7 separate regions of the Homo sapiens genome follow, and regions 2, 3, 4, 5, 6 and 7 are each linked to region 1. The links are contacts of gene promoters, found by promoter capture Hi-C in blood cells and fetal thymus (Javierre and others, 2016). All regions are on one chromosome and are shown on one strand. Each heading gives the region's core, a stretch centred on a gene start or on the middle of the fragment in contact. The rest is flanking DNA. Distances are from core to core; before and after follow the strand shown.

The links. The method cuts DNA at HindIII sites, captures the fragments that hold promoters and counts their contacts. A CHiCAGO score of 5 or more calls a contact.
Region 2: a fragment that was not itself captured here is called in contact with the fragment with the promoter of CRNKL1 in region 1 in 1 of 17 cell types (naive CD4 T cells); the score reaches 5.4 in naive CD4 T cells.
Region 3: a contact is called between a fragment that was not itself captured here and the fragment with the promoter of CRNKL1 in region 1, in 1 of 17 cell types (total CD4 T cells). The highest score is 5.6, in total CD4 T cells.
Region 4: a fragment that was not itself captured here is called in contact with the fragment with the promoter of CRNKL1 in region 1 in 3 of 17 cell types (naive CD4 T cells, non-activated CD4 T cells and activated CD4 T cells); the score reaches 9.2 in naive CD4 T cells.
Region 5: a fragment that was not itself captured here is called in contact with the fragment with the promoter of CRNKL1 in region 1 in 1 of 17 cell types (total CD4 T cells); the score reaches 5.2 in total CD4 T cells.
Region 6: a fragment that was not itself captured here is called in contact with the fragment with the promoter of CRNKL1 in region 1 in 1 of 17 cell types (naive CD4 T cells); the score reaches 6.3 in naive CD4 T cells.
Region 7: a fragment that was not itself captured here is called in contact with the fragment with the promoter of CRNKL1 in region 1 in 1 of 17 cell types (total CD4 T cells); the score reaches 6.3 in total CD4 T cells.

Annotation. Positions count from the first base shown.
Region 1 is chr20:20,050,994-20,054,211 of GRCh38, reverse strand. It overlaps CRNKL1 (crooked neck pre-mRNA splicing factor 1), which reads left to right and starts at 1,746. Exons shown (of 14, transcript NM_001278628.2): 1 at 1,746-1,920. The coding sequence starts at 1,870. It overlaps CFAP61 (cilia and flagella associated protein 61), which reads right to left and starts at 1,680. Exons shown (of 27, transcript NM_015585.4): 1 at 1,621-1,680. RefSeq lists a silencer at 1,272-1,321 and enhancers at 1,412-1,711, 1,722-1,891. The HindIII fragment of the contact is 2,238 bases long and covers 1-1,789 here.
Region 2 is chr20:18,279,893-18,282,753 of GRCh38, reverse strand. LOC124904876 (a long non-coding RNA gene) reads right to left here. Exons shown (of 3, transcript XR_007067544.1): 3 at 2,683-2,861. Among named protein-coding and RNA genes, the nearest start is that of ZNF133, 7.2 kb to the left of the region's middle. The HindIII fragment of the contact is 1,368 bases long and covers 651-2,018 here.
Region 3 is chr20:21,553,311-21,556,440 of GRCh38, reverse strand. No RefSeq gene overlaps it. Among named protein-coding and RNA genes, the nearest start is that of LINC01727, 15 kb to the left of the region's middle. The HindIII fragment of the contact is 4,582 bases long and covers 1-3,130 here.
Region 4 is chr20:18,132,998-18,135,972 of GRCh38, reverse strand. No RefSeq gene overlaps it. Among named protein-coding and RNA genes, the nearest start is that of KAT14, 3.4 kb to the left of the region's middle. The HindIII fragment of the contact is 751 bases long and covers 1,279-2,029 here.
Region 5 is chr20:18,792,836-18,795,726 of GRCh38, reverse strand. LINC00652 (long intergenic non-protein coding RNA 652) reads left to right here and starts at 1,143. Exons shown (of 4, transcript NR_026883.1): 1 at 1,143-1,559; 2 at 1,924-2,062. LCDR (lysosome cell death regulator) reads right to left here and starts at 1,678. Exons shown (of 1, transcript NR_026885.1): 1 at 1-1,678. RefSeq lists an enhancer at 1,463-2,002. The HindIII fragment of the contact is 9,609 bases long and covers 1-2,891 here.
Region 6 is chr20:18,475,033-18,477,980 of GRCh38, reverse strand. POLR3F (RNA polymerase III subunit F) reads right to left here. Exons shown (of 9, transcript NM_006466.4): 5 at 2,794-2,906. Among named protein-coding and RNA genes, the nearest start is that of MIR3192, 5.9 kb to the right of the region's middle. The HindIII fragment of the contact is 2,714 bases long and covers 109-2,822 here.
Region 7 is chr20:18,589,807-18,592,991 of GRCh38, reverse strand. The region is part of intron 1 of DTD1 (D-aminoacyl-tRNA deacylase 1); the gene reads right to left. It also overlaps the pseudogene RN7SL638P. Among named protein-coding and RNA genes, the nearest start is that of DTD1, 3.3 kb to the right of the region's middle. The HindIII fragment of the contact is 3,622 bases long and covers 1-3,185 here.

The DNA of each region.
Region 1 (3,218 bases), core at 497-2,996:
ACTGAAAGAATTCAAAGAATCTTGTAGAAAGAACTAGGAGATGGTATATTCTGAGAAGAATAAAATCAGAAAGAAGTGGAATACAAGATTAAATGCTGGGAAATAAGAAGGTAAACATGAAGGTATATCTACAAAAGCATTGATGGCAAAAAGTAAGAAGGATAATACATTTTTCCTAAAAAAAAAAAAAAAAAAAAACAAACAAAAAAAACACACACAGAGATGAACTGAATTGCCAGACAACAGAAATGTAAGAGAGAAGGATGGTGATCAGAAGCAAAGTATTCTAGCATGTTTGTACTTTTGAGCAAAGGCAACAGATGATTAAACCAATGATTCATTTGGTAAATCAATTGTTTACAGTAACACATTTAAGGAAAATCACTTCAAAGAAACATCTTTTTAATATTTATTTATTTTGTTAGGTGGCTTTATGAAAGTGATATAAAATCTTCTCTATTTAAATTTTGAAAAGTGAGATAAAATATCTAAATAATATGGTTAATAAAGAGTTATGGCAAATACATTGATGTTGGTTATAACTGACTGCAGTTCTAGAAATCTGCATAAATCTTTTGTTGAAAGTAATATCTGCATTGGTAGACGTGATATTACTACATACATAAATATATATTTTCCCCAAACACCAAAAGAGCTTTGCAACTGTGGAAATTATCCTAACAAATGAGCTGCCAAGTCATGTCATTATACATTTGTCCAACCTCATAGAATGTACACCAAGAGTGAACCCTAATATAAACTATGAACTTTGGGTGATAATGATGTGTCAATGTAGGTTCAAGATTGTAACAAATGTACTGCTCTGGTGGAGGATATTTTTAAGAGTTGGAGGCTGTTAGAGGAGGGAAGAGGTACAATAATTGATAGCAGGAAGCTGTGGAGGGAGGAAATCTCTGTGTCTTCCACTTAATTTTGTTGTGAACCTAAAACTTCTCTAAAAATGTCTATTAAAAAAAATTCTCTTAACCTTTGCTTTTCAGTTTTTGAGGGCAGGTTAAGTATTATAACAGCTAACATCTACTGAGCATTTGTCTTTAATCCTAGTGAAACAGATGTTATTAGCCTTGTTTTATAGTTGAGGACATTGAGGCTAAGAAAATTTAACTAGAGTAATTAAGGCACACACAGAATTTAAACATGTTTCTTATCACAAGACTGAGTTGTTTTCCAGTTACTCTATTTATATTTTTTCCTAATATCTGGCTTCAAAGTACCTTCTGTTATTTTTAATTCCAAGCCTTAGAGTTAATTATTTGGGCACCTTAGAATTATTTGGGCACAACTGTCCCGAAACCAGAAACGAGGGGGCGTGGACCCAGAGACTACTAGAATGCAATGCTCGAGGCATTGCAGCCTAAAAGGGCGGCAGCTCGCCCCGTCGCATGCTGGGAATGGTAGTTTCCTCGCTCTCCCTTCTTCCCCCGCCCTCGAGCATCCAGATTGGAGCTCCGTTCTTACTCCCTTGCAGGGCGCCACGGCTCGACAGAGCCACTCGTCCTCGCCTGGTCATCCCAGTTCCGGAGGCTGACCTGGGGATGCGCCCTGGACGCCCTGCACCGCAGTCCTTGCGTCGCTGCTAGTCAGCACGGCGTTACCCACCTCATCCGCAGCTCCAGGACGCCGCACTCCACGCGCTGCCGCAAGGAGGACGCGCAGCCTGGTCACCATGGAAACGGTGCCGCCTCCGTCACGGCTCAAGCGAGAGGTCAAAGGTCAGTCCTGCAAGTTCCGCTTCCGGTTCCGAGATCCTGTTTGTTTTCTGAAAGCTTTGTGGTTTCGGTGAGCTCTCAGAGCCGATTTCTAGCGTCCGTGCCGGGGACAGGTGTCCAGAGGTCGACTGCTGCAGACATGGCGGCCTCCACCGCGGCCGGGAAGCAGCGGATTCCCAAAGTGGCCAAGGTAGGCGATCGCGAGGGGCCTTGTAGGAGGTGGCCTAGGAAAGGGGCATCCCTCAGCCCTGAGGGTGCCCGGGTTGGGAGAGAGTGTTCCCGCCGGGGAGAAGGCTCACCCTGAGAGATGGAGAGGAAGGGCAGCTGGTGGTGGGGCGCGGGCTCTTGTCATCGCGGAGCACGACCCGCGTTGGCGTGGCCTTCGTTCTGGGGTGGTTTTGCTGGGGAGTGGAGTGGGGTGGTTCGGTGAAGATTTACTGAGCCAGGCACTGCACTGGGCGCTGGGAAGCTACGCTCGTACGCTGGCCACAAGCAGTACTCAAAACACGAGTTTCTGTATAAAGACGACCTTGCTAGATGTTACCGAGAGGCAAAGTAGAATATGCCATGGGCGTGAATAAGGGGGTCGTATGAAGGGGTCCTGAAAGTAAATTTTGCTGAGGAAATGACCTTTAAGCTGAGACTTGAAGGCTGAATAGGAGTTAGCCCAGCTGACAGCGGAGGGCGAGAGTAGACGGTAGGAGTAGTATAGTATCATAAGTTAATTAAACAGTAGACTTACTATCTGGTATTTCCTTTGATAGCTAATACTTACCAAGTGCTTAATATGTGGCAGACTTTGAAGCCTTTACAGATACCCTCCCTCCAGTCTTTCTTGAGCCCGGATGACTCTCTTGAACTGGACCTTTACATAACTATTTGTCTGACTCGCAGGAGTAATGCATATAGAGCAAGTAACACTGTGTCTGGCACTTAGTGCTTATTAAATATGAGCTATCACCATTATCATCATTACTCCACATGTGGCATTAAGTAACATTTTTTATAATTCAGCTACATAAACTTTTATTGGGCATCACTGGTCCAATGGAAATATAATGCACACCACATATGAAATTTTAAATTTTCTCATATCTACATTAAAAAGTAAAAACAAAGCAAAAAAGTGAAATTAATTTTGATAATATATATTTTATTTGAGCTAATGTATCCAAAATATTATCATTTCAACATGTAATCGGTATAAAAAATGTAATGAGGTAGTTTATTCTTTTTTATACTTCATCTTCAAAACCAATGTGTATTTTACACTTACAGTCCACCTCAATTTGTACTCACCACATGTGACTCATAGCTACTGTGTTGGACAGCACAGCTCTAAGCTACGTTAGACTGTAAGCTTCTAAGACCTCAAGAAGCTTACAGTCTAATGATGAGAACTTACTGAAATTGCCTTTGACTTGAAGTGCCATGTAAAACCAAACCCAGTTATACACCGGGGCATTAAATAAGTTGAAGAATTCTGTA
Region 2 (2,861 bases), core at 85-2,584, 1.8 Mb after region 1:
AACAAATCATGTGAGAATGATACAAAAAACAACATGGAGATGTAGAACTGGAAACCTGATAACTTGGCTAATATTTGTGTGGTCATCCAATCATTTTAGGCAAAGAAAAGAGCAAAAGAAGAGACAGTAAAAGGAAAAGATTCCATTTACAGCAGCACCTGCTTAGAAAATAATAAAGCAATGCCATCTCCCCTCAGCTATATCTGTTAAGAACTCTAAACTTTGAGTGACCCTAGTAGGGCAAAACTACTTGGCTGTAACTCAATAATTTTTCCTGACCTCTGAAAAATAGAACCTTTTAAACCAATTATGTAACAGTACTATGGATTCATTCTGACCTATCCAGAGTGCTAGTTTTTAATCCATAATGAACACAGCCACAATGAAACTCTACCTCCTAACATTTAAAAACACTGAAATTTCCCCCTCAGTGAACAACTTGTGAAACTTTTTCAGTGGTGTGTGTAGTAACTCAACCTTTTCACTTCTTTTCTTAAGCCTTGGTAGTTTTTGTTTTACATTAGAAACAAAACAAGAATACTATGTATGAAAACCAAAATTCTGATCATAGCAAATCCATTGTATTTAATGACTTTATCATTGAAATAAAAAATTTAAGAGGTAAGGAAACAAAGTCTTCAACCCAAGCTTGAAAAAATATAGCAAAAAGAAACACAAAGGCATAAATGAATACATTGGAAAGCAGTGAAACTGTGATAATACTTGTGAAGCGATTTGGGGCTCAGTACCTGTTGGCCAGGATTCATTATTGCTGCTTCCTTATTCTCCTCCAATGTATGTTCCATTTCACCTTGTTCCTGGCAGCTTCTCACAAGCTCTATTGCAGTTTTTTTTTTTGTTTTTTTGTTTTGTTTTGTTTTGTTTGAGACAGAGTTTTGCTCTTATTGACCAGGCTGGAGTGCAATGGCACAATCTCGGCTCACTGCAACCTCTGCCACCCAGGTTCAAGCAATTCTCCTGCCTCAGCCTCCCGAGTAGCTGGGATTACAGGCACCTACCACCATGCCTGGCTAATTTTTTTGTGTGTTTTTAGTAGAGACAGAGTTTCACCATGTTGGCCAGGCTGGTCTCAAACTCCTGACCTCAGGTGATTGACCCAGCTCAGCCTCCCAAAGTGCTGGGATTACAGGTGTGAGCCACCGCACCCGGCTGCTCTATTGCACTTTTTTTTTTTTACTGATAGCGTGATTTACCTGTTTAAAGAAACATGCCTTTGGGTAGTTTATTTTTATATTTAAATATATTTTTATTTTTATATATTGAAATGGTTATTTTTTTAATTTAGAAAGAAATACTTTTTTGTAAATTTTAAACCTTTTATTTGAAAATAATTTCAAACGTAACAAAGTTGCAGGTGCAGTACATGTAACACTGATGCAGTACTTTTAATAACCTATCATCGGTATTCTAATTTGACAATTGACTTGATAATGTGTTTTATAACTTTTTTTTTTTTTTGCGTTCTAGTATGGGATCCAGCCTAGGATTAGGTTTAGTTGTCATGATTCTAGTATCCTTTAACCTGGAATATTTTTCTTAGGGTTTGTTTTTCTGTCTTTTAAGAACAGGGTCCTCCTTTTTGGTAGCTGAATGTTTTATTTGGGGGTTGTGTGAGGGATATCACATTTGGTAGTGCCTGATTTCTGCCTTGTACAGTTACTATTTTTTTCGTTTCTAAGACCATCTCTGAGGAGACAATTTAAGACTGTGCATCCATTAATGATTCTTGCCTAGACTAGTTTTTACCCTAATAGTTACAAAGCTGTAATTTCCAATGCCAACACTCCCTCCATATTTTCCAGTCAGCACTAGGCATTCAGGTAGGATGCTATTTTATGAAAGAAAATACAGTATTCAGGTAGCAGTGAGAGAAGGACAGGCAAATCACTGATCCTAGTGTCACCAGAGCTATTCAGAGGTGCAGAGAGCTGTGAGAGCTTGGAGAAGGGAATATGGGGTGCAGAGTGGCAGAAGGCAAGGTTGGGGCTACATAAGCTTCCTCACCTGCCTGGCCAAGGTGTCTTGACTCGATTTTGCATGTGGCTGAGCTTATAAAATCATAACAACACAAAACCTACCAGCTGAGAAAAGAAACCTTATCAATTTTTAAAAATTTAAATATGGTAGTTCCCCTCCCCTGCCATCCATGGGGGGTTACATTCAAGACTGGTTGCCTGAAACCTTGGATAGTACCAAATCCCACATACTGTACATATGTTTTTTGCTATACAAAAAAACTGAAGATATGGTTTAATTTATAAATTAGGCACAGTAAGAGATTCATAACTAATAATAAAGTAGAACAACTATAACAATATACTGTAACAAAAGTTGCGTGGATGTGGTCTCCCGAAATATCTTATCGTACTGTACTCGCCTATTTTCAGACCGTGGTTGCCCCTGGGTAACTGAAACCTCAGAAAGTGGAACTGTGAATAAGGAGGACTACAGTGCTGCATCCACGTGTCCATATATTTAGTATTTTTAGAATAGATTGTCCATAAGTTAATTTTTTTTACCATATTCATAATTGAGGAAGTCTGAGCATTGCGTTAATATTTTTTAATGACAATAAAACCAGTAGCACTGAGGGCAGATCCTAAAGAATGAAGAAATTAAGGGCAATAAGGAAGACGAAGAGAGTCAGGGATGACTTGTAGCTCTGGTAAAGACAAGAGAGCTTTATTATCAGTGGCAACAGGGAGCCATTAGAAAACCATCTAATGTAGACCAGAGCTTCTCAAACTTCAGTATTCTGGGGATCTTGTTGTGATGCAGATTCTGATTCAGAGGCCCTGAGCTTTCTAGTAAGGAGGATGCTCCTGCCCCAGGACAATGTT
Region 3 (3,130 bases), core at 524-3,023, 1.5 Mb before region 1:
AATTACTACTAAAAGATAACACTCGTTGAAGGTTTACAATCCACCAGGAGAAAGAGTAGATGTGGGTCACCTCCCTACCACCACCATCCTGTTGAATCCAATTTCCTGGACTTGGAACTCAGAACCTTCCTTTTCACACATTCTCCAGGGGATTCTAACACAAGCTAAAGTTTAGGAGCACAAGCAGTAAAATAGTAAAAACTTTGTGTGTGAGTGTGTGTGTCTGTGTGTGTGTGTGTGAGAGAGAGAGAGAGAGAGAGATCCGAAGATAAGACAGGGGAAATATTAACATCAGTCAGATTAAGCTGGCGGGTACATGGGTATCGATCATTTCTGTTTGGGTAAAATATGAAATCCTTTTTTAAATTAAAAAATTTAAATTAATAAATTTTCTGAACTGATTTGGCCTCTCAACTTTTCCAGCCTTCAGCTCATCATGTGCACTCAAGCTGCAGGCCTGAGAAACACGTCTGGGAGTCGTCATCACAGGGGAAAGGAAAGGGCATGAGGACAGTCTTGAGTGTTGCCCTGTATCCTGGCTCAAGACTCAGAAGGATCAGCAAAGAGAAGGAAGGCAGGAAGGAAGGAAGGAAGGAAGGAAGGAAGGAAGGAAGGGAGGGAGGGAGGGAGGGAGGGAGGAAGGAAGGAAACAGGGATAAGAAAACAAGGCTGAGGAAGTCAAACAGAACTGAGAAATATGATTTTCTTGTTGGGTTGAAAACACAGTGTTTTGTGTAGATATATGTATGGGTGTATGGGTCTACCCAAAGGTTCTGCTTCTTTGTGGATAGACAAACTTTTTGTGGCTTTATGTCCTGTGCCTAATGTCAAAAGCCATCCTAATTTGTTCCAACTCTGGGCCCCGAGGGCCAGGGGTGAGTGACACAGGAGGGGAGTTTTCACAATTTGTTTTGTTCTGAATTGGCAGTCAGTTCCAACGAGAGGCAGAAAGGAATAAGATGAAGACTCACAAAAACTCAAATGTCATCTTCTTTTACTCCCTCTGTCTCTTAAACTCAACTCTGTAATCATGGGGAGAGCCAAACATTGCACATTGCCATCCTTTCAGCAAGCTCGTTCACTCTGAAAATGTCAGCTCAAGGTCAAAATCACTTCTGAGTCCTCAAAGACTCAATCCCAAAAGGCCGGTCTTCTAAGAGCAGGAGATCCCGAGTAGAAAGAAAAGACCACCCAGCCTCCCCTCTAAGTGCACAGTCCAGCTCCTGGACCACCTGCCCTGGTGGCCCACCAAGTCCCCGGGCTGCCTGCACTGGATCAGTGCCAGGGCGTTGGAACAAGTCCTCCTTTGAACAAAAAGACGCCTAACAGTACCATTGAACAGACACACTGCTAGGATCCCTGCACCCACTTCCTGTGAAAATTACTAGGATGTTTACATCAAAATCACAACAGCATTTAACTGGAGAGAAGGGGCAGAAAAAACAAATACGATGGTTCAATTGTCTTTTATTCTGCATTTCTTGCATTTCAGAACCAGAGAAAGTGGAGAGGAAAAGAAGAAGCACTTCTATATGCAGCTTAAACTTTAAAGATCATATTATTCAAGACACAGCTTTATTGGGGGAAAAAATAGGGATAAAACAAAGCCAGATGAACTTAATGCGAATGGGATGCTTTTATGGAATCACCAACGTTTCCATTGTTCAGCCTGAATTGCCCATATTTTTGTATTCACTGCAGACAATGAGTTCTTGTGACATTCTGGCATATATTATACTGGGGGAAGAAAACCCAACCTGCTTTATTTGTTCCATTTTCTGCTTTTAGATGTAATGGAAATGTTAACATGCTTAACATCCGTGGCCTCTCTTCCAGCCTCGCTTCACTTTTCGTAGTTATCATGAGTCTTAGTGAGGGTACGCGGTGCTTCCAGACAAGAGGTGGTGCATGCTAATGTAAGCTCAAAGCCAGCCTGCTCTATATCCTTCACCGTGCAAACTCTCCCTCTCATTCTTTTAAAGACTTTCACGGCATATAGTCTCCATTATGATTAAAATGATCTCAACTGTCCTTCAGAAAAGAATGTAAGGCTTTTGACTACGTGAACCAGTTCAAGGAAAATCTCCCAGGAGTCCAGGACATGAAGATCACATTGTCGAACCTCTTTTATAAGCATTCAATTCCACCTGGTTTTATAGCTGCCTCACTCCCCTCTCTGGATGGGTTTCTCTTACATTAATTGATAACACTATGTCTAATTTGAAGTTCACGCCAAAGGTGGGAGTTATATAAATAAACGATTTCAGCTTCATGAGAGTAGGAGAAGGCAAAAGTGCTCTCATATTTTTAAATCCTCTACAGGACTAGAATGACCATTCCATCTCAGTTGCCTGCTTTTCCAAAAAGGTGTGCATAAATTTCTTTCTTTAAAAAAATGTGTGCGGACGGGCTTGGTGGCTCAAGCCTATAATCCCTCAGGTGGATCTCCTGAGGTCAGGAGTTCTAGATCAGCCTGACCAACGTGGTGAAACCCTGTCTCTACTAAAAATACAAAAATTAGCTGGGTGTGGTGGTGGGTGCCGGTAATCTCAGCTACTCGGGAGGCTGAGGCTGGAGAATTGCTTGACCCCAGGAGACAGAGGTTGCAGTGAGCCAAGATTGCACCACTGCACTCCAGCCCGAGTGACAGAGTGAGACTCCATTTCAAAAAAAAAAAAAAAAAAGTGAACTGTTCAAACTCTACACATTTTTTTTTTTTGGAGACAGGATTACCCAGGCTAGAATGCAGTGGTACAATCACAGCTCCTGGGCTCAAGCAATCCTCCCACCTCAGCCTCCTGAGTAGGTGGGACAGGTGCATGCCGCCATGCCCAGCCAATTTCTTGTATTTTTTTTTATAGAGATGAGGTCTCACTATGTTGCCCAGGCTAGTCTTGAACTCCTGAGCTCAAGCAATCCTTCCACCTCAGTCTCTCAAAGTGCTGGGATTACAGGTGTGAGCCACTGTGCCCAGCCCACATTTTTTTAAAAGGGGAATTTTCACCTGGTAATAGATATTTTCCTGTATGGTTACCCTTTGGGCCTGTCTTTACTATTTCCATACTGTCACAAATCCCACCACCAACTCCCTGCAAAAACAGGGAGAGAACCTATTATACGGAGAAAGATA
Region 4 (2,975 bases), core at 405-2,904, 1.9 Mb after region 1:
AGGCTGATCTAGAACTCTAGTACTGGGTGCTGGTACTGGGTGTTTGTGAAAATTGGTCCAGTGGCACACCAAGGCTGTGTGGTCACACATACATGCATGATACACTTCTATACAAAATCTTACATAACTATACGAACAGAAAAAAAATGGCTCTTTTTTGTTTCTTTTATTGTCTTTATTTCCTTTTGATTTTTTATTGTGTGTTTTTTTCTTTTTTTTCCCATTGGTTCATAGCCGATGGCTTTACATTTTATCATCACTTCTTGTATCAAATAGCTTTTTGGCTGGGAACGGTGGTTCATGCCTGTATTCCAGGCACTTTGGGAGGCCAAGGCAGGTGGATCACTTGAGGTCAGGAGTTCGAGAACAGCCTGGCCAATATGGTGAAACCCCGTCTCTACTGAAAATACAAAAATTCGCCAAATGTGGCAGCGCATGCCTGTAATCCCAGCTACTTGGGAGGCTGAGGCAGGAGAATTGCTTGAACCCGAGAGGCAGAGGTTGCAGTGAGCCACTGCACTCCAGCCTCGGTGACAGAGTGAGACTTCAACTCAAAAAAAAAAAAAAAAAAGTTTTTTCTCCATGGTAACTATCAAAAATTAAAGAGATGATCATTTAAAAAGATTTTGATCAGCCAGGCGTGGTGGCTCACACCTTTAATCCTAGCACTTTGGGAGGCCAAGGAGGGTGGATCACTTGAGGTCAGGGATTCGAGACCAGCCTGGCCAACATGATGAAACCCCGTCTCTACTAAAAATACAAAAATTAGCCAGGTGTGGTGGTGGGTGCCTGTAATCCCAGCTACTTGGGAGACTGAGGCAAGAGAATCACTTGAGCCCGGGAGGTGGAGGTTGCAGTGAGCCGAGATCAAACCACTGCACTCCAGCCTGGGTGACAGAGTGAGACTCCATCTCAAAAAAAAAAAAAAAAAAAAAAAATCTTGATCAAGAACTATGTGCAGGAGCAATGATCAGGAACTATTTTTAACACAAAACTTGATATTTAAAAGAGACTCCAAGAAGAATGTTATCAGGAAATTTTACCCAAAGTTGATATTTAAATCTACCCCAAGATTTGCTTTTATTTTTCTTCTCATAATTATATGTCATTTATTTTTTTGTTTTTCTTTTTCTTTTTTATAAGAGTACCATATAAAGGAAATGTAAATAATTATTATCCATGAAGCTCCTTTTAGAATTATCCAAGCTCACGCAAGTTGATCCCAGTGAGTTGTACAGATATCCTTATTTTTTATGTTTACCAAGGTGGGACGAAGCTTAGGAAGCATGGCTGATTTAATACAATTTGCTTGTAAGGCCAGAACATCTGAACCTTGTGTATCTGGCTATATTCTAGTGTCTCGGCATCCTAAGATCACATCAGTTCCTGCCCCTCTCAGCTTTGGATTGACTTAGGTGTGCCCAGAATGGCCACTGCTTTCCTGGAGAGGACAGTGGGTGCCTTGCCCTGCCATTGGCTGGCCTTCAGAGTGAACTTACCTCCAAAGACAAAAATAGGAAGCTGACCACCTTAAAAACCGCTCAGTGGCTCCCCATGCCTACAGGATAAAGTCCCATACTCTTTAGAACAGCATACTACCCTGTCCTTCCCTTCAGAATCCTCTAAGCAAGAGGCAGCATCAAAAAAGAAGTACAGTTGGAAGTCAGGGCTTGGAGAAGAATCAACAAATGAAAACTAAGGGGAGGGAATGCAGTCATTTTCCTGTGTTTGAACAACATGGTCACACAATCTTTGTTCCACCTTCACTCACACAAGGGTGGGGACTTGAAAAAAATGCCTTCCTCACTGAGTGTGTAATTTGGCTTATGTTATTTGGGCTTGAATCATGGCCAGGTCCTGGCAGCTATCCTGGGAGAGCTGGGTTTCGGGTCACTTCTGTCTTAAAGAATAGTAAATCACTAGTACCCTAGCAGGAGGTATCAGTAGGAGGCACGGGTTTAAACTGGGCTTGATGGTGGGCATGAATGCAATAGGTCAAGGCAGAGGCTTCAGGCAATGATCAGAAGCTTGTCATCATTGGGGCTGAGAGAGAAGGAGGAGGTGGGAAGGAGGAGGTTTGTTTGGGAAGAAGGTGGAGGGTGTCAGCTGAACTGGCACCAGTGACTGATAAATTTATCAGTCTCAGCACTAAATGATTACAGAAACATCACACCACATGGCACCGCATAAAGCACCATTATGACTATTTTAAATGCAAGCAAGAAGGCTTGCCTTGTGTATGGCCCTGTAGTGGGCTCTATAGGCAGACAAGGCCACGAAATCCCACCTTCTTCAGGCTGAGGCTCTGAAGTCAGCACATAAGGAAAAAGTCAAAAACAGTTAAAACTACCCTTGAAAACATTTTAGGAAGGTGACATGTTGAAGAAAATAGATATTTTCTCAGGAACTCCAAAACAGCCAGTTTTTCTTCTGGTACTGGAATTAATCACCATGAATTCAATGCAGTATCTATATAAGTAATCTGAAATTCTGCACAGGTTTGTCTCTTCTCTCCCATTTAGTAACTGATTCAATCATTTGTTTCTATCAGTGTGGACTGGTGGGTATTTATTTTATACTTTGGGTTATAATCCAATATTACTTTATTTTGTTGCTCAGATGGCTCCCGCTTTGGCCGTTGGGAGATCTTTCAGCTCCTCTGCTTCTCTGACGGACCCTCATCAATGTGTGTTTTTCTTGTTTAGCACTTGTCTATTTTCTGACACTGCACAATATTCTGAGCTAATCTTGTATATTTCCTGCCCAAGTCTCAGAATCTGCCATTTCTCCAAGAATCCAAGGTTCTTTTTATTGTAGAATAATATTGGAATCCAAGATATAGGTCCTGGCATGCTTATTGCTACTGGGGCTTTGTTTCTTTTGGGCCCTCTCAGCTGACAAAGCACATAAATATATGTGTGTATACTTATCTGTGTATGTTACATATCTGCAAATATTTCTATATGTAATCACCT
Region 5 (2,891 bases), core at 209-2,708, 1.3 Mb after region 1:
TCAAGCAGTTAAAGGAATTATTCTTTCCCATAAAAGCGGTCCTGAGGTAGGGCTACAGTGGCTGAACTTCTGCTATGATAAGTATTCAGGGGTTTCCCAGGACACAGCATCAATGCTAAAACTGGCAAAATCCCAATGGACTGATCCCTTCAATGGATGACAGGACCCTCTATGGCTGAAAGACTCTAAAGTTCTTAGTTCTTAGCTGTGACAGGACAGAGAACCGACATGTCCCACCTGCAGCCACACCCATCCCCTTATTATTACTAGATCTTATCAAAAGCTGACTTGAAGAGGAAAAAAGGCCAAAAGACTTCTTTTCTTCACCTAACCGCCGATGCCCTCCTTTTGGTTTTATGGTTCCAACCTGACAGCTACTCTGGGCTACAAAGAGCCCCTTCTTGACAGATGACTGCCAGCTGCAGGCTAGATCAGACTGGTCTCTGGAGATTGCACAGATCGTGAACTTGTGCCCTATGTTTCACCTTTTTGCATTTACAGCCTAATTATAATACATTTAAATGTTAAATCTTCACCCCAGAGTGAACACAGGTCATCCGCTTTTGGATATTCTTCATATGTAAGCCCAGTGCGTGTCTCTAACGAGTTTCCTCCATGAATTTTCATAGGCTTCTCCTGTATGCTACAGAATACGTATATCCTACCTCTCCACCTAGCATAAATACCTACCTTTTCTCCTTCAAAGTATGCTTTATGGCCTCAGGTAGAGGCCTGCTTCCTGCCTGCAAGTTGTAACCTCTTAGAAATAGTTATATTTTGTTTATTTTGATTCTTTTCAGTCGACACATGCAAACAGGAACGAGTTGGCTACTTGAGGGTTGGTTCCTTGTGCATCTCAGTGAGTCTTGAAAAACCCCAGATCCGTCCTTCCTTCCTGCCGCATGTCATCCTAAGGCCAGTGTCTGTCAGGGAGGCAAGGCAGCAGCAGTACTTTTGGGAAACATCCAGAATAACATTAAAAAGCCCCTTTTTCCCCACACGTGTCTTTTATCCAGAGGGTCTGTTTTCCACAAGTTCTTCAGTGATTTCTCCCCAGTCTCATTGGCTGGGATTGGCTTTCACGCCTCTTAACAGGATTGACCATGGTTCATCAAGGGTCAACTTGAAAGCTGAACCCTGCCAACTTTCCCTGAATCTCCTGACTATGGTGGAGGAGTGTGGATCCTGGAACTAAACTGAGGTGATAGGGAGGAAAAGAGAGAAATCAACAGTAAACGCTGCACATCCTCTGTCTGGTAAATGTGCATCACTGATTGTATCCAATCTAGATTCAACCAGAGAGACGGAAGCATTAAGAATGACATAGAATATGGAATTTGCTATAGGGATTTGAGCTTCTACATTTGCGGGAAGGAGCGAGTTGAACACTTAGGAACAGCTGTTGCTGCCGTGTCTGGTGGGGGGCCTGAGAGTGGCAGGACAAGCAGCCTGCCCCAGAAGTGGAAGAAACTGAAAGTGGAGTCCTGAGAGCTGAATCTGCCGCAGGCCCGCGGGCCGCCCGGGAATTAGGAAAGTTAGAGGGGATCCACGCCCACAAGGTAAGCCAGCAGATGGGGACAATTCCCCGGGCTGCGACAGTCCCTAATGTCGGGCACCTACCTTTCAAGCCTACGAGACGACAACACTGCGTCACTTCCGCCTCACGAAGCCCGCATCAGGTCACGTGGCGTGTGCTAACCCCGGAAACCTACAGGCAAGGAATTCTGGGAAACGTAGTTCCCGCTTAGCTAGGTTGACATGGTACAAAGCCACATTACCACGCTAAGTGTGGCTTTGATTTTTAGAAACCGCCTCATGCTAAGTCTAGGGAATACAGTGGTTGAATGGGGTGAGCGCTGACCTTTAGCTATTCTGGAGGAACATGTCACTTTCACTTATTTTCTTTCATGTTTTCCCACCCAGTGCTATGGACTCTGATCGCCCAACCAGAGCAAACCCAGAAGGACAACTCTCCAAGCCTTTCAATCACTCCCACTAACCCGTATTGTGGACACACTATTGTGAGGCCTACTAAGGATGTACTGCTGATGACCTTTTGAAGGTAAGTCAAATGCAGTTAATCCTAAGAGGTTGGTTAGCCCCCTGCATCTTACTGAACACAGTAAATCAAAAGCGCTGTGCCCTTGAGACAAATATGATAAATTCCCTCTGCAGTTTTGAAATGTTTATCAATGCTAAACAAGGTAGGGGGATGTGGGGAGCATGAAAACAGAAAGACAAGGTCTGACAGACACATGGGAGAGATGTCTGTTTCAGAGGCTTAGTTCAAGTGGTTACTGTATTTAGGCTATTTAATTTAAAGGTGGTTACTGTATTTACATACACATCAGAGAAGTCCAAAATTTTAAAGTAAAGATCAGTTTGCAAAGATCTTGTCAAATTATTCGTTTTAAAATGAGGACCCTTATAACAACACAGGTACTTGAAAATATTTTGCTAATGAAAGAAGCTGGACACAAAAGATTACACCATGTACAATTTCATTTATATGAAGTTCTAAAACAGGCAAAACTAATCTATGGTGGGAAAAAAATCAGAATAGAGTTCACCTTGGGAGTTGGGGGTAGACTTAACTGGAAAGGGGCCTAAGGACACCTTCAGGGATAATGAGTGTATGCATTTGTCAAAATTCACCATAGGGGTGAAGAGCACTGATGTCTGCCACTTATTTGAAAAGCATCAAAAAATAAGATGGATTGATGGATGTATACAAGCGTAGGTAGACATATACATAAAACAAATACAGCAGAATATTAATTGCAGAATCTATGTGGCGAGTATATAGTTCAGCCCAGGTCTGAGTCATAGACAGATGGATGTCATAGATAGATAGTCATAGATAGATACCGAAATACTGATTGGGGAAGAGA
Region 6 (2,948 bases), core at 216-2,715, 1.6 Mb after region 1:
TCTTGGGAGAAGAGAGGAGCTGGAGATTGAATTCACTCACATGACCAAGGATTCAATCAATCATGCCTGTATAATGAAACCCTAATAAAAACTTTGGACAGCAAAGCTTGGGTGGGCTTCCAAATTTGGTTAATGCTTCTGTCATACAAAATAATTTCACCACCCTAGAAATATTTCTCATGCTTCACCTATTCAACTTTCCCTACCATCCCTGCCCTCACCCCGATCTTTTTAGTCTGTCTAGTTTTGCCTTTTCCAGTATGTCATATAGTTGTAATCATACAGTATGTAGCCTTTTCGGACTGGCTTCTTTTACTTAGCAATATGCATTTAAGATTTACTCATATCTTTTCATGATAGCTTATTTCTTTTTATAACTGAATACTATTCTGGTTTGTCTATCCATTCACCTATTGAAGGATACCTTGGTTGCTTCCAGTTTTTGATTATGAATAAAGCTGCTGATTACGAATAAAGCTGCTATAAATATTCATGTAGTTATGTGGACATGAGTTTTCAAATCAGTTGGGTAAATACTTAAGAGCTTGACCTTTGGACAATGTGGTAAGACTCTGTTTAGTTTTGTAAAAACTGCCCAGTTTTTTAACAAAAGGACTGAAAATTTTGCATTCTTAGCAATGTATGAGTGTTCATCTTGGTCTGTATCTTGTCAGCATATGGTATTACCAATTTTTAGATTTTAGCTATTCTAATAGGTGTGTAGTGGTATCTCACTATACTAAATTTTATTTTAATTTGCAGTTCTCTAATGAAAAATAATGTAGAGCATCTTTTCATATGCTTATCTGCCATCTGTATGTCTTCTTTGGTGAGGTTCAGATCTTTTGCTCATTTTTAGTTGGATTATTTGTTTTCATTGTGTGTTTTTTTTTTTTTTTCTTTTTTTGAGATGGAGTTTCGCTTTTGTTGCCCAGGCTGGAGTACAATGGTGCAATCTTGCTCACTGCAACCTCTGCCTCCTGGGTTCAAGCAATTCTCCTGCCTCAGCCTCCCAAGTAGCTGGGATTACAGACATGTGCCACCACGCCTGGATAATTTTGTATTTTTAGTAGAGACAGGGTTTCACCATGTTGGTGAGGCTAGACTTGAACTCCTGACCTCAGGTGATCCACCCGCCTTGGCCTCCCAAAGTGTTGTTTTCTTATTGCTGAATTTTAGGAGTTCTTTGTATATTTTGGAGACAAGTCCTTTATCAAATATGTGATTTGCAAATATCTTTTAGTATGTAACTTGTCTTTTCATTCTCTTAATGTGTCTTGCAAAGCAGAGGTTTTCAAAAAATTTTGATAAACTCCAACTTATTAACATTTTCTTTCATAGACTACTATTGGAGTTATAGTCCAAGAATTCATTAACAAAGCCAAGGTCATGTAGATTTTCTATGTTTTCTTCAAAAAGTTTTATAGTTTTGCACTTTACACTGAGATCTAAGATTATTTTAACCCTTAAAAGGACACAGAAGTTCACCAACGGATGAATGAACAAAAGGTGATATACATCTATACAATGGAATTTTAATTGGCAATAAGAAGGAATAAAGCACAATATGGATAAATCTTGAAAACATCATGCTAAGTCAAAGTAGTCATACATAAAAGACTACATATTCTATTATTCCATTTATAGGAACTGTCCAGAATAGGCAAATCTATAATAAAGGCAGAAAATAAATTATTCGTTTTTAGGGCCTATGGAAAGAGAGGCTGGGAAACAAATACTAGTGGCCACATTTGGGGGTGATGAAAATGTTCTAAAATTAGAACAGCGGTGATGGTTGCACAACTCTTAGCTTATAGTAAAAACCAGTGACTGTAAATCCAAAGATTTTACACTTTAAAAGGTTGAATGAATTCTGTAGTATGAATGATGAATTATATTTCAGCAGAGCTGTTATTAAACATAAAGATGTAGAAGGAGGACTGACAAAATGAGGCTACATGATAGGGTTTTATTATATGATTTTTTCTACCTTTGTATATATTTGAAATTATCCATTAAACAATGTGGAAGGGAAATGCTATTCTGATAAATAAAATCACTAATAAGCATCAAATTCTTATAAGTGATGTTATAATTCTTATAATTCTTGTTTTATTCAAAAATAAAAACTTGAAGCAACATATGTAAGCGGATATTTGAGGAAAGGTCTACTCACTGCCACAGACCTAACAGCTCTGAAATTATAAAATTTGAATTATAGCTGTAATTCTTATGAAATGTGTATTGAAGCAAACTTTATTCTAGGGGAATCTCAGTTCCTCTGATGTCTAAATCAGTGAGGTCAGGGGCAGATGTCCCCGAGGGAGCCAGCTCTGGAGCAGGGGTGGGGCAGGATGAGGAGCAGGAAAAACACACGTGTACTAGAAGAGAAGCTCCACCAAGGCAGGGATCTTTCTACGACTTGTTCATTAATGTATCCCAAGCACTCAAAACAGTGTCTGGCACACAGCAAACACTCTTTGTTGAATGAGAAAGCTAATATGTCGGGATAAAGTAAATTATCTTACACACCACAAAATCTAGGAAAAATGTTCACAGTTCCAAAGATTCTTCACTGAAGACAGTAAAGTAGTTTTAGATTTTTGAGTGGGTGAGTGAGACACCAAGAGCTAACTGTGTAGGGACAAGTCTAAGCAGCATCTCCAAACCAATCCAACATGAGCTAAATTTTTAAGTCTTTTTTGACCAGCTGTTCTAAATCATGACATAACTTCAAGAATAAAAACTTGAAGCAACATATGTAAGTGGGTATCTGAGGAAAGGACTACTCACTGCTACAGACTTAACAGCTTTGATAAGCTTTTTACTTTCCAGATTCTTCAGAATTTTGTTGATTTCTGTTAATGGCAAATTACTTTTATAGCGGATATCTCTGCTCCATATTCCTATAAGAAAGTAAAGTAAAATAAGTTGAACTCTGGTTTTCA
Region 7 (3,185 bases), core at 357-2,856, 1.5 Mb after region 1:
CATCATTATGGGCCGGGCATGGTGGTTTATGCCTGTAATCCCAGCACTTTGGGAGGCTGAGGCAGGCAGTCATATGACGTCAGGAGTTCGAGACCAGCTTGGCCAACATGGCGAAATCCCATCTCTAATAAAAATACAAAAATTAGCCGGGCATGGTGGCGGGCGCCTGTAATCCCAGCTACTCAGGAGGCTGAGGCAGGAGAATCGCTTGAACCCAGAAGGTGGAGATTGCAGTGATCCAAGATCACACCATTGCACTCCAGCCTTCCAGCCTGGGTGACAAGAGTGACTCTCCATCTCAAAAAAAAAAAAAAAAGATGCATCTTTATGATGGAGAATCCCTGTTTTTTTTTTCATTTGTTTTTCTTTTTAAGAGGCAGGATCTCTCTATGTTGTCCAAGCTGGAGTGCAGTGACTATTCACAGGTGCAATTCCACTACTAATCAGCACAGGAGTTCTGACCTGCTCTATGTCCAACCTAGGTTGGTCCATCCCTCCTGATGGTCCTCTGGTCCTGGGAACTCACCATATTGATGCAGAACTTTGGTATGACAGCAGGTCAGCATAGTGTACTATAGCCCAGAACCCCTGGGCTCAAGCAATCCTCCCTGCCTCAGCTTCCAGAGTAGCTGGGACTATGGATGCACGCCATCATACCCAGCTAAATCTGTATTTCAAGTGGTGCTTTTGAAAATTTTCTATTTTTTGCCAATTATTTGCCAATCTTATTAGATTATGTTATTTTACTACTTCATCTTGTACTGACCTAATGTGCTAATCGGAATAGAAGGGTCACCTCAGCCATTTTCTTGCTGTTTGCTTGCTTCTGCAGGGTAATAGCTATAAATATAACTAACACAGTAACATAGACTATGTCATGTTACAATACACTGCTAAAGAAAGGGTGAGAAACTTCCCTCTTTCTTCAGTTGCAATGGCAAGAGACCACCTGCTATTCAGATCCCAGCAGAGCACATCAATCCATTCCTGAAATATCAGTAATGCTTAATTTCTTTATTTTTAGGCTAAAATTTTTTAAATCTTTTCTTCTGTGCTGCTTTTCTTATAATGAACTATGTGTGTGTGACTTATTGTCCTTTGAGCCACTGCCTCAAAAGCTGAAATAGAAATAATCTATCCTGACATAGGCAGTAAACAATTGGGGGTTGGTTTGCTCATTTGCATTGCTTCAGAAAAAGCCTTTGGCTTTATTTGTTCTTTGAATAAATCAACATTACTTTCTTACAATATTGATATACTTTCTAAATTTTTCCCAAAGTATGTTTTAAAAAATAAAGGTCATGAAGTTATATCTATCATCAAAGTAAGGATTATATATTTTAGAAAATATGAGAAACATGAAAAAAAGAACAAAGGTAAGTACTTTAATATTTTAATGATTTCCTTTTAATATTGTATCTATTCATACATTTTAATTCATATTTGTTTTCAACTACTATAATAACATTGCATATAAATTTTTATAATAATATTGCATAAGAATTTTTTCATGTCATAACCTTTTCCTAAACACCTTTTAATAGATTCAGCTCATCAAGTAGACTGATTAACCATTCCATCTTGCTGGACATATGGCTTCTTTCAAAATTTTCACCTCAGTAAATAACAGTGTAGTGAAAATCTTCGTACACTAAAGCCTTTTCTACAGTTAGGATTATCTGCTTAGATTCTAGAATCACTGTCAAAGAATTTTGACAGTTTTATAATTATCTTAACATGAAACAAATTATGGCCCAAAGTCTATATATGACACAGAGACTGCTGTCTTATTTTGGAGCAGTTTTGTCCCCCCTCCAGGGACAAGTAGAAGGACTAGGAGATTCAAAAGGATTTTTTATTATAAGTAAATGGATCACCAAGGGAAAAAATCTGAGAATCACCACTTTGAACAAAAGATCAAAGGGCTGGAAAAGACTGAGATGTTTGGTCAATTTTTCTACCTACTAGTGGCATCAGACCTGAGATCTCTACTTCAAGAATTCATAACCTTTGAAGTTAACCTAGTTAAACCCAAACATTTTAGATCCTCTTCCAACACTGTTCACAGACATCAAATTTTAGCTGCTGACAATGAATGATGGGACATGGGGGTTATTGCCCTATTCCGTCTGTTAATATGTTTGAAATGTGCCATAATAAACTTTTAAAAATTAGATTATCACAGTACCCAACCTAAGGCATCAAAATGTGTTTGATCAAGCTGGGTGCAGTGGCTCATGCCTGTAATCCCAGCACTTTGGGAAGCCGAGGCAGGCAAATCACTTGAGGCCAGGAATTTGAGACCAGCCTAGTCAACATGGCAAAACCCTGTCTCCACTAAAAATACAAAAAAATTAGCCAGGCACAGTGGCGCGCACCTGTAAGACCAGCTACTCAGGACACAGAGGCATGAGAATCGCTTGAACCCAGGAGGCAGAGGCTGCAGTGATCAGAGATGGCACCACTGTACTCCAGCCTCGGCAACAGAGCAAGACTCTCTCAAAACAAAAACAAAACCAATTAGCCAATTGGAGAAATCTGATGGACTGGGCATCAAATGATATTACAGGGTTACTATAAAAAAAAATGTGTTTGACCAATCACATAAATTGAATATACCACATAGTAAAATGTGTGACTCCTAAGCTGGACATAGCGGTGGCGGCACACGCCTGTAGTCTAACTACTCAGGATGCTGAAACTAAAGGATCACTTGAGCCCAAGCGTTTGAGGTTGTAGTAAGCTATAATAGTGCCACTGCACTCCAGCCTGGGTGACAGAGCAAGACCCCATCTCTAAAACAAACAAACCATAAATGCATAAATTTAAAATAAATGTGAAGTCAACCAACTATTTTAAAATAAAATAAAATGTGTGACTCCTGATAATCTATGCTGTCCTGACCATAAAACAGGAAGTTAACATTTTAGAACCCCTAAAATAAAATGCCATTCAAACACAGCCACATTTCAGTGAAACCAGCCACATTTTAAAGGAATCAGAAAATCCCTTTCCATTACAATGCAACTAGAAGGCCTGCATAAGTGGAGGGCCCTTCTAACAGAATTCCACAGTTCCCCAACCCAGAATTCCCGAATTATTTACACTTTCCCATAATTAACACCCTTATCTTTTTTAATATGCAGGTTTGGTTGTTTTAACTGAAAGCATATAACTTAAATAGT